2 separate regions of the Homo sapiens genome follow, and region 2 is linked to region 1. The links are contacts of gene promoters, found by promoter capture Hi-C in blood cells and fetal thymus (Javierre and others, 2016). All regions are on one chromosome and are shown on one strand. Each heading gives the region's core, a stretch centred on a gene start or on the middle of the fragment in contact. The rest is flanking DNA. Distances are from core to core; before and after follow the strand shown. Region 1 holds the start of NCOR2 (nuclear receptor corepressor 2). Region 2 has its middle 73 kb from the start of NCOR2.

What was found. Contacts are between HindIII fragments. The CHiCAGO score rates a contact against its expected background, and 5 or more counts as called.
Region 2: a fragment that was not itself captured here is called in contact with the fragment with the promoter of NCOR2 in region 1 in 5 of 17 cell types (monocytes, M0 macrophages, M1 macrophages and 2 more); the score reaches 16.2 in monocytes.

The regions. Positions count from the first base shown.
Region 1 is chr12:124,565,448-124,569,154 of GRCh38, reverse strand. NCOR2 (nuclear receptor corepressor 2) reads left to right here and starts at 1,543. Exons shown (of 49, transcript NM_006312.6): 1 at 1,543-1,847. RefSeq lists enhancers at 1-90, 91-951, 1,118-1,167 and silencers at 1,288-1,537, 1,648-2,007, 2,028-2,137, 2,278-2,497, 2,698-2,797. The HindIII fragment of the contact is 7,570 bases long and covers 1-3,707 here.
Region 2 is chr12:124,639,122-124,643,006 of GRCh38, reverse strand. No RefSeq gene overlaps it. Among named protein-coding and RNA genes, the nearest start is that of NCOR2, 73 kb to the right of the region's middle. The HindIII fragment of the contact is 1,064 bases long and covers 1,397-2,460 here.

The sequences.
Region 1 (3,707 bases), core at 294-2,793:
GGCAGAACTGGAGCTGGTCGGGCCAAAACAAGGAGGTGGGGGGGGGGCACTGACCTATGACCCCTCCTGTTTCAGTCTGCAAACTGCTCCCCTCCACACCCACTTCCCTTTTGCCAGACATTGTCAGCCCCAGAGGCTCCCGCCAGCCCCCCAAAAGCTCATAATTAAAAGCCCGAGGGGGCAGAGAAGGACCTGGCTGCAGGGGAGCCCGGCAAACCCAGCATCCTGGCGGAGGCGGGAGGCCCGCCGGCCTCTGGAAACCACGCGGCTGCCTCCCCACCGCAGCCATTCCCCGCTCTCCCTGGGGGTTCTCAGATGTTGCCAGATGGCAGAACTGAATCTGCTGAGACGTCACTCCAAAAAAGGAAAGTTGAACTGAAAAAAAAAAAAAAAATTCAAACTCTCCAACATCTTAGGAGAAAGCAGAAGAGGAGGGAGGGAGGGAGGCTCCAGGCCCAGGGCTCCCAGTGCCCTCTGCTGTTCAAAGAGATCTGCCCTGGTTGGAGAGGGCAAACCTGGAGGGGGTGGGAGGAGGGGGTAAATGAGGACACTGGGTTGTCAGGGCGGCCAGGGGGGCCAGGTTCCTGCTGGAGCGGAGAGTGTCTGCCTGTGCGTGGGGGAGCGAGCACATGTGTGCCGTCTGTGACTGCGTGCTTGTGCAGGCCGGGCGTGTGTGGCTCCCAGGGTCACGCTTTGGGATGTGTGTGTCTGTGTGTGTGTGTGGGGGGGGCGGGGGGGACACAGGCTCGTTGCATTGTCTCCGCATTTGTGTCCCTGAATGTCCCCAAGTGGGACTTCACTCAACACATTCGTGAGTCCCTACTGCGATAGGGCAGTGAACAAAATAGAAATCTCTGCCCTCAGGAAACTGGCATTCTAGCGTCTGTGTCCTCCGGGGTGCTGTGAACTCGCGTGGGTGTCCCAGTATTTGTCTGTGTGAGATCTGACATCTCCGGTCCGTGGTGGGTGGTGAGTCTGCAGTGTGTTCGCCCGGGCTGGGTCTCGGGTCTGGGGAGGCCCAGCGTGTTCCTGCCTGGAGAGGGCTCTGCGCTACTGTCTGCTCCCGTCCCCAAGTGCCCCACTGGGCGTGCTCCTAAAAGGCCCTGTGTAGGGCCCTCCCTGCGCGCCCCCTCCCCATCCAGCGGCCACTCCAGAGTTATAATTTAATAGCTGAAACGCGATTCCAGTGAGGTACTGGGGCTGGAGAGGAGGAGGAGGGCCCCCGGGCCCGCAGGAGAAGAGGGAGGGGAAGGCTGGGAGGCGCTTCCCCCCTCCTTCCTCCTCGGGGAGCTGCCAAAAAGAAACTCGGCGTCGCGCCCAAGTGTGTGCGTGCGTGTCTGTGTGTGTGGCGGCGTGCGCGCGCGAGTGGGGACGCGCAGGGCCTGGAGAGAAGGCGCGGGCCCTTTAAGGAGCCAGAGGGGGCCGGGCCGGGGCGCGTCGCTGCGGGCGGGGAGCCGGGAGCAGGGAGGCCGAGCCACCGCCTCCCGGGCTCGCGCCCCGCCCCCTCCTCCCCCTCCCGCCGCCGCCGCCGCCGCCGCCGCCGCCACCGCCGCCGCGGCCGCCGGGGAGCGCGGAGCCGCGGGCAGGCCGGGCCGCACCGGAGCCCCGCGTCCGCCGGCGCCCCGCCCGAGCCCTGCGCCCGCGCCCTGCGCTCCGCGATGCGCGCCAACTTGCGGGCCGGGGACCCAGGGCCGGCGCCCTAGGAGGCGGCGGCGGGAGGATCGCGTCCCGACCCGAGGCCGGGCCTGCTGCGCGCCCCCAGCCCGATCGGCACCGCCACTTGCCTGAGCGCCCCGGCGGCCCGAGCGCGCCCCAAGCCCGGGCGCCACCGCTGCCACCTCCGCGAGGTGAGTTGGGGCCGAGGGTCCCCGCGAAGGGCGGGGGGAGGCGCGGAGCGCGCTTCCGGGGGATCCGGGGAGGATCGGGCGGCGCACGCGGCGGAGTTGGCGGGGCCCCTGCACTCCCGAGTTGGCGCTCTCGGGGGGTGGCCTGCTGGGGAGCAAGGCGCCCCGCCGACACTGCGGCCCGCGTGCTCGGGGGCGCCGGGGAACTTAGGGGAACTCCAGCTCCCTAGCGAGGGGGCGGGAAGGAGGGAAGTGGCGTTGGGGTGGGCGGGGGGCGCGCTGGAAATGCACAGAGCGGCCCCCCACAGTGTGCGCCGGCTCTGGGGACTTGGCCGCCAGGCGTCCCTTGTACCCGGTGTAGCCCCGGACCTGGCGGGGCGACACTGCGCCTTATTTTCCATCGGGCAGCGCGGGTTTGAAAGCCCTTGGAGATGGTACCCCTAGCTCCCTGGCCTGGCTGTTGTGGAGGGGCGCATGAGGGTCTCTCACCAGCCGAGGGGGAGAGCCAGCCTTGTCCCTCCTAGGCGTGGGGCCACGGGGCGCTGGGCGGGGTCCCTCGGGAGAGTCGCCCCTGGTCCCCCTCCCCCGCGGGCCGGTGTTCCTGGTGTCTGGGCCTGCCTCCCGTGGCTGGTGACGCCTCATTGGGCCGCCTCCTAGTCCCTCCCCCGGGCTGTGCGGATACTTGGGATGCCACTACTTTGCGAAGTTGGAATTCAGAGCTGATCCCACTTGGGCACGACTGGGAAGACCCAGACCCTTGTCTAGAGGGCAGCTTCCTCAGAGGCCTGCGGGGAGTGAGGGCACCCGTGGGGTACGCCCTCCCCGCCCCAGACACTTGCAGGAGGAGCAAGCCGAGGGCGGGAGGGCACGGCGGGCGGGAGGGAGAGACAGGCTGTACCTGGGAGCTGCTGTCGCCCGGGCCCAATTAGCGTGGGGCGCCCGGCGTTATTTTTACATTGTAGGTTTATTTTTTTGGAAGCGAGTGTCCTCCCGCCGCCTGTCGCGCGCTCCGGCTCTCCGAGGGTCTGGTGCAGGCAGCGGGGGCGGATCTGTTCTGTCGGCTCAGCCTCCTCCCTTCCTCCCCCTCCTCCTCTCCCCCGTTGGTGAGAACTGGTTTTATTGTGATTATTATTATTTTTCCCTTTTTGCAGATTTGGAGGAAGGATGTGTGAGGGAGGGAAGAGGGGAGGAGGGGATAAGGGGAGGACCCTGTGGGCGGGGTGGGGGAGTTCTGGGCGCGTTGGGATGTGTTACCGGTGGCCTTGACTTTGCCCCTTTTCAGCCAGATCTGGGTCCTTGCGGCAGCTTTGATATAAGGGGCTCTCCGGGCCAGACTGCGCCGGGAGGGCGACCCGGGGCAGGCTGTGTACCTCGTGGGTGGCCTCTTTGGGGGTGCTGAGGAGGGGCCGAGAAATGGCAAGCAGCAGTGAGGTGGGATGGCCCACTCTGCACCTCAGCTCCTGGGGTTTGACTCTGACCTTTGCCACTTTCCTGGCAGTGTGACCCTGGACAGATGCTTAACTTCTCTGTGCCTGTCAGGTTTCCCATCTGCAAAATGAGGGTCAAAATGGTACTGAGTTCACAGAGTGGTTGTGAGAGCTGACCGTCCGGCCATAAGAATCCCTTGGTACTTGTATGTGTTACTATGACTACTGTGTCGGTATTATTATTCCTGGGTTCTAAGATTGGGCCTTTAATCCAACGTGGTCTGGAAGCCCTGTGAAAAGGGGCCACCTTACCTTTGGCTGGGGGTGGACAGTGGGGGGATCTGGGGGAGGGAGGGGGCCTTTTCCCACTCCCCTCTGCTTGTCCGGAGAGGATGGAGAAGGGCAGGTGCCCCCGCCCATTGAACAGATGCAAAGA
Region 2 (3,885 bases), core at 679-3,178, 73 kb before region 1:
TGCTTCATAGATGGCACTTCCTGTGTCCTCACATGGTGGAAGGCAGAAGGGCAAGGAGACTAGGGCTCTCTTTCCATCCTCTTTTTTTTTTTTTTTTTTTTTTTTGAGATGGAATTTAGCTCTTTTTGCCCAGGCTGGAGTGCAGTGGCATGATCTTGGCTCACTGCAAACTCGGCCCCCAAAGGTTCAAATGATTCTCCTGCCTTAGCCTCCCAAGTAGCTGGGCTTATAGGCACCTGCCACCATGCCTGGCCCTTCAACCTCTTTTGTAAGAGCCCTGATCCCATTTGTGAGGGCAGAGCACTGATGATTTAATCATTCCCCCAAAGGCCCCTCTTGATACTACTAATATTAATATCATGTTGGGTGCTAGGCTCCAACATGTGCATTTTTGCTGCACCCCGAACATTCAGACCACAGCAGTGGGTGTGACAACTGTACCGTCCAGAATGAAGGGGGCTGACACAGGTAAGGAGCCTGGTGTACAACAGGCACTCAGGGAGCCTCAACTTGAACTATTATTTTTTATTTTTATTGTTAGAGATAGGGTCTTGCTCTGCCGCCCGGCCTGGAGTGCAGCGGCACGATCTCGGCTCACTGCAGCCTTGCCCTCCTGGGCTCAAGTGAGCCTCCTACCTCAGGCCCCCGAGTAGCTGGGACCACAGGCATGCACCACCATGCCCAGCTGAGCTTGTGTGTTTGTTTGTTTTAGTAGAGACAGGGTTTTGCTATGTTACCCAGGCTGGTCTCAAACTTCTGGCCCCACGCTCTCCTGCCTTGGCCTCCCAAAGTGCTGAGATTACAATTGTGAGCCACCGTGAGCATCCAATGCTAATTATTTATTTTTAAATATTGTTACTCTGCCTGGGATGGGGCATTTGCTTCTCTGTCCTGCTTGCAGAACTGGGAGCTCCTCAAAGGCTGGAACCTCCCTTCTGCCCAACACCCCTACATCTTGGGCACTTTGCACCGTGAAGGTTTGTTGAATGAATTACTGACTGACTTGTGCTGGATCCCAAGTGAAGAGCCTTAAGACCCAAAGGTTGGTAAGATGAGGTTTAACCGAGATGGGCTGGAGCCTCCCTGGGGGGAACAGGCAGTGCTGGGACCCTCCCCTGCACAGCCAGAAGCCAAGACAAGGACTGCAGGCGCTGGCAGTGGGTGTGGTGCTGAGAATGGAGCTGGTGTGGCACATATGCTTAAGAAATTCCTGTTGGCATCTGGCGGGGTGGCGCTGGGTCAGCACTTTGCAGGAAGCCTCTCTCTGGGCAAGGAGGGAGCTAGGGGCTAAGGAGACAGGCACTTAGCCAGAGGCAAGCAAATCAAACACCAGAAGATGTCGCTTCTCTTCTTGGCCTGTTATTTCTAGGGTAACATGGTGGTTCCCCCGTAAGCTTGCTTGTCCAAGCCACTCTCCAATCTTGTCCGCCAGATCTGTGACCCCCAGGGACTGACCCTGATCCCGTTGTCCTCTGGCTCCTGGTTGGGTTTGGCCAATGGGAGGCCCATCAGAAGATTGGAGAGTGGGAGGAGAGAAACCAAGGCCAGGGAGAGAAAGTCACTTTCTCAAAGACAAACTCATTTAGTGGCAGAGCTGAGACATGATCCCCAAACCCCTGACGCAGATTGTGTGTGTGTGTGTGTGTGTGTGTGTGTGTGTGTGTGTGTGTGAAAATATACATGATATAAAATTCTCCATCGTAACCATCTGAAAGTGTACAGCTCAGTGACATTAAGTGCCTCCACCATGTGCTTGGGGACTTCCAGATCATCGAGAGCTAGCTCCAGAACACATTCGTGGCCCCAGAAGGGAAAACCAAACCTGCTAACCCTTGATCTTGGAGTTTTCAGCCTCCAGAACTGTGAGAAAATAAATGTCTATTGTTGAAGCCACACAGCCTGTGGTCTTTTGTGACAGCAGCCCGAGCTGATGAACACACCCACCAGCAGCCACGTGTGTGCGCCATCTTGGAAATGGGTGTCTCTGCCTCAATAAAGCCTTGAGATGACTGCAGCCCCAGCTGATACCCTGATTGTACCCTCGTGAGAGACCCTAGAGCAGAGCCACCCAGCTAAGCTGCTCTCCAATCTCTGACCCACAGAAACTGTGTGAGATCACATATATTTATGGTTGGTTTTAGGATATTTTGTTACGTGGCAGTGGATAACTAATACACCCACCAAGAAGGAGCCGTGCAGTCATTTAGTTCCCAGGCTTGGTTTGACCCAGCCCATGGAGGTGCTGTTTCCCTCTCCCTTCTGGAGCAGATGAAGCTCTGTGCTGTGGAGTGTTGGCTCTGGCTTTCCCAGAGCTCTGACCCATGAGACGTAGGAGGTGGATGGAAGCTAGCACAGTCTCATGTGACCCACTGTCCAGCTGTGGTTGATGTGATGCCATGACCATCTCAGAGGCCCGTCACCTTGTTTGTCCCTTTGCTCTCACTCTTGCCGTCCTAAGCTTGCACCCCATCAGAATAGCATTAGCCAGGAAACCCTGCCTCAGCCTCTGTGCTCCAGGTAACCTGGGCTAAAACAAAGAGCTGCCAATCAAGGAGCTCCACCTTCTCCTGATCAAGAGTTGACCCAAGTGAGGCCAGCAGCCTCTCTTACCCAGATTTTGAATCTGGGAAAATATGAAGAAATAGCAGGGAGACGATTCATGCCACAGGCAGTGCCCAGGCGAGCCGAGTTGAGCTGTTCTGTCATTTTTGTGAGTCATCCTCTTTCCTTCCCCAAACCCCCTTCGTGCTTGAGTTTTGGACTTGGTTTCTGTTGCTTGCAGCCAAAGATCTCTAACTCAGAGAGATACAGATTCTAGCTGTTATTTTTGCTTTTTAATTCAATGACTGATTTATGCTCAGCATATAGTTGATGTTCAACAAACACTTGTCAACTATGAGTGAATAACACACCCAGCATTCCGCAGGAGGCTCCCAGGCAGATGGGCACTTAATCAGGACTACTTTTTTTTTTTCAGGACTATTTTTAAAGTTCTGCAAGGAAAGACACTCTAAAAATTTCCCTTAGCAACTTTTCTAAACGTCTAGCAACACGATGTCATGGGTTTCTTTCTCACACCCGAGCCAGTTTTTACCTATTGCATCTAAAACTCTCTTCTTTCTTTCCTTGTTTTTTGTTTGTTTCATTCTTGTTATTCGTTGAACAAATCTCTGTTGTACACTATCTCTTCACCATATCCCACAGGGAGAACATAAATGATAGATGTCCCTTTGCCCTCGAGGAAAGAGACTGTTGGCTGGAAGTCAAGGGGCCTGAATTTTAGTCCCTTCCTGTTACTGGGCGTCAGTTTCCCCACTTACGAAATGAGGGCTTTGTGCTAGACTGGGCACAGCCAGGAGCTTTAATCCTGTGCCAATTCCTAGATTGCACTAAGGTCTAGGCTGAGGATTCTCAGGCAATGCTCAAGCTCAATGGGAGAGAGAGCTGGGATTGATTTCTGATGTCTGCCTAGGTGTAGGCAGGGAAAGTGCTATGTATTCGCCAACCCTGAGCTTGGCCATCTCAGAGTTCCCTGCAAGTTTCAGCAGTCTCTGACCTGGGGAAACTCAATGGGGGAGACATGGAATATTCACTCACAGACATCAAGTAGGTGGCAGTTGCAGCCAAGATTCACTGAGAGTTCTGAGCAGGGAACAGTAGCTGGGGGCCAAGGATCCTTTCCAGTTGGTAAATGGGTTGGGAGTTGCCTGGCTGGGGAGATGCAGAGATTTTGGCAGACAGATGGGTAGCTTTTCTAGGACGTTGAGAGAAGGCCTGGGGTGAATTGGGGATGTCAACTCAGTTAGTCCTTCTGGGCCTGAGGTGCATTCCAAGGTGTGGGAAGGGGTGTTAGAGGAGGGCGGTCCCAGCTGACCCCCTCCTCCC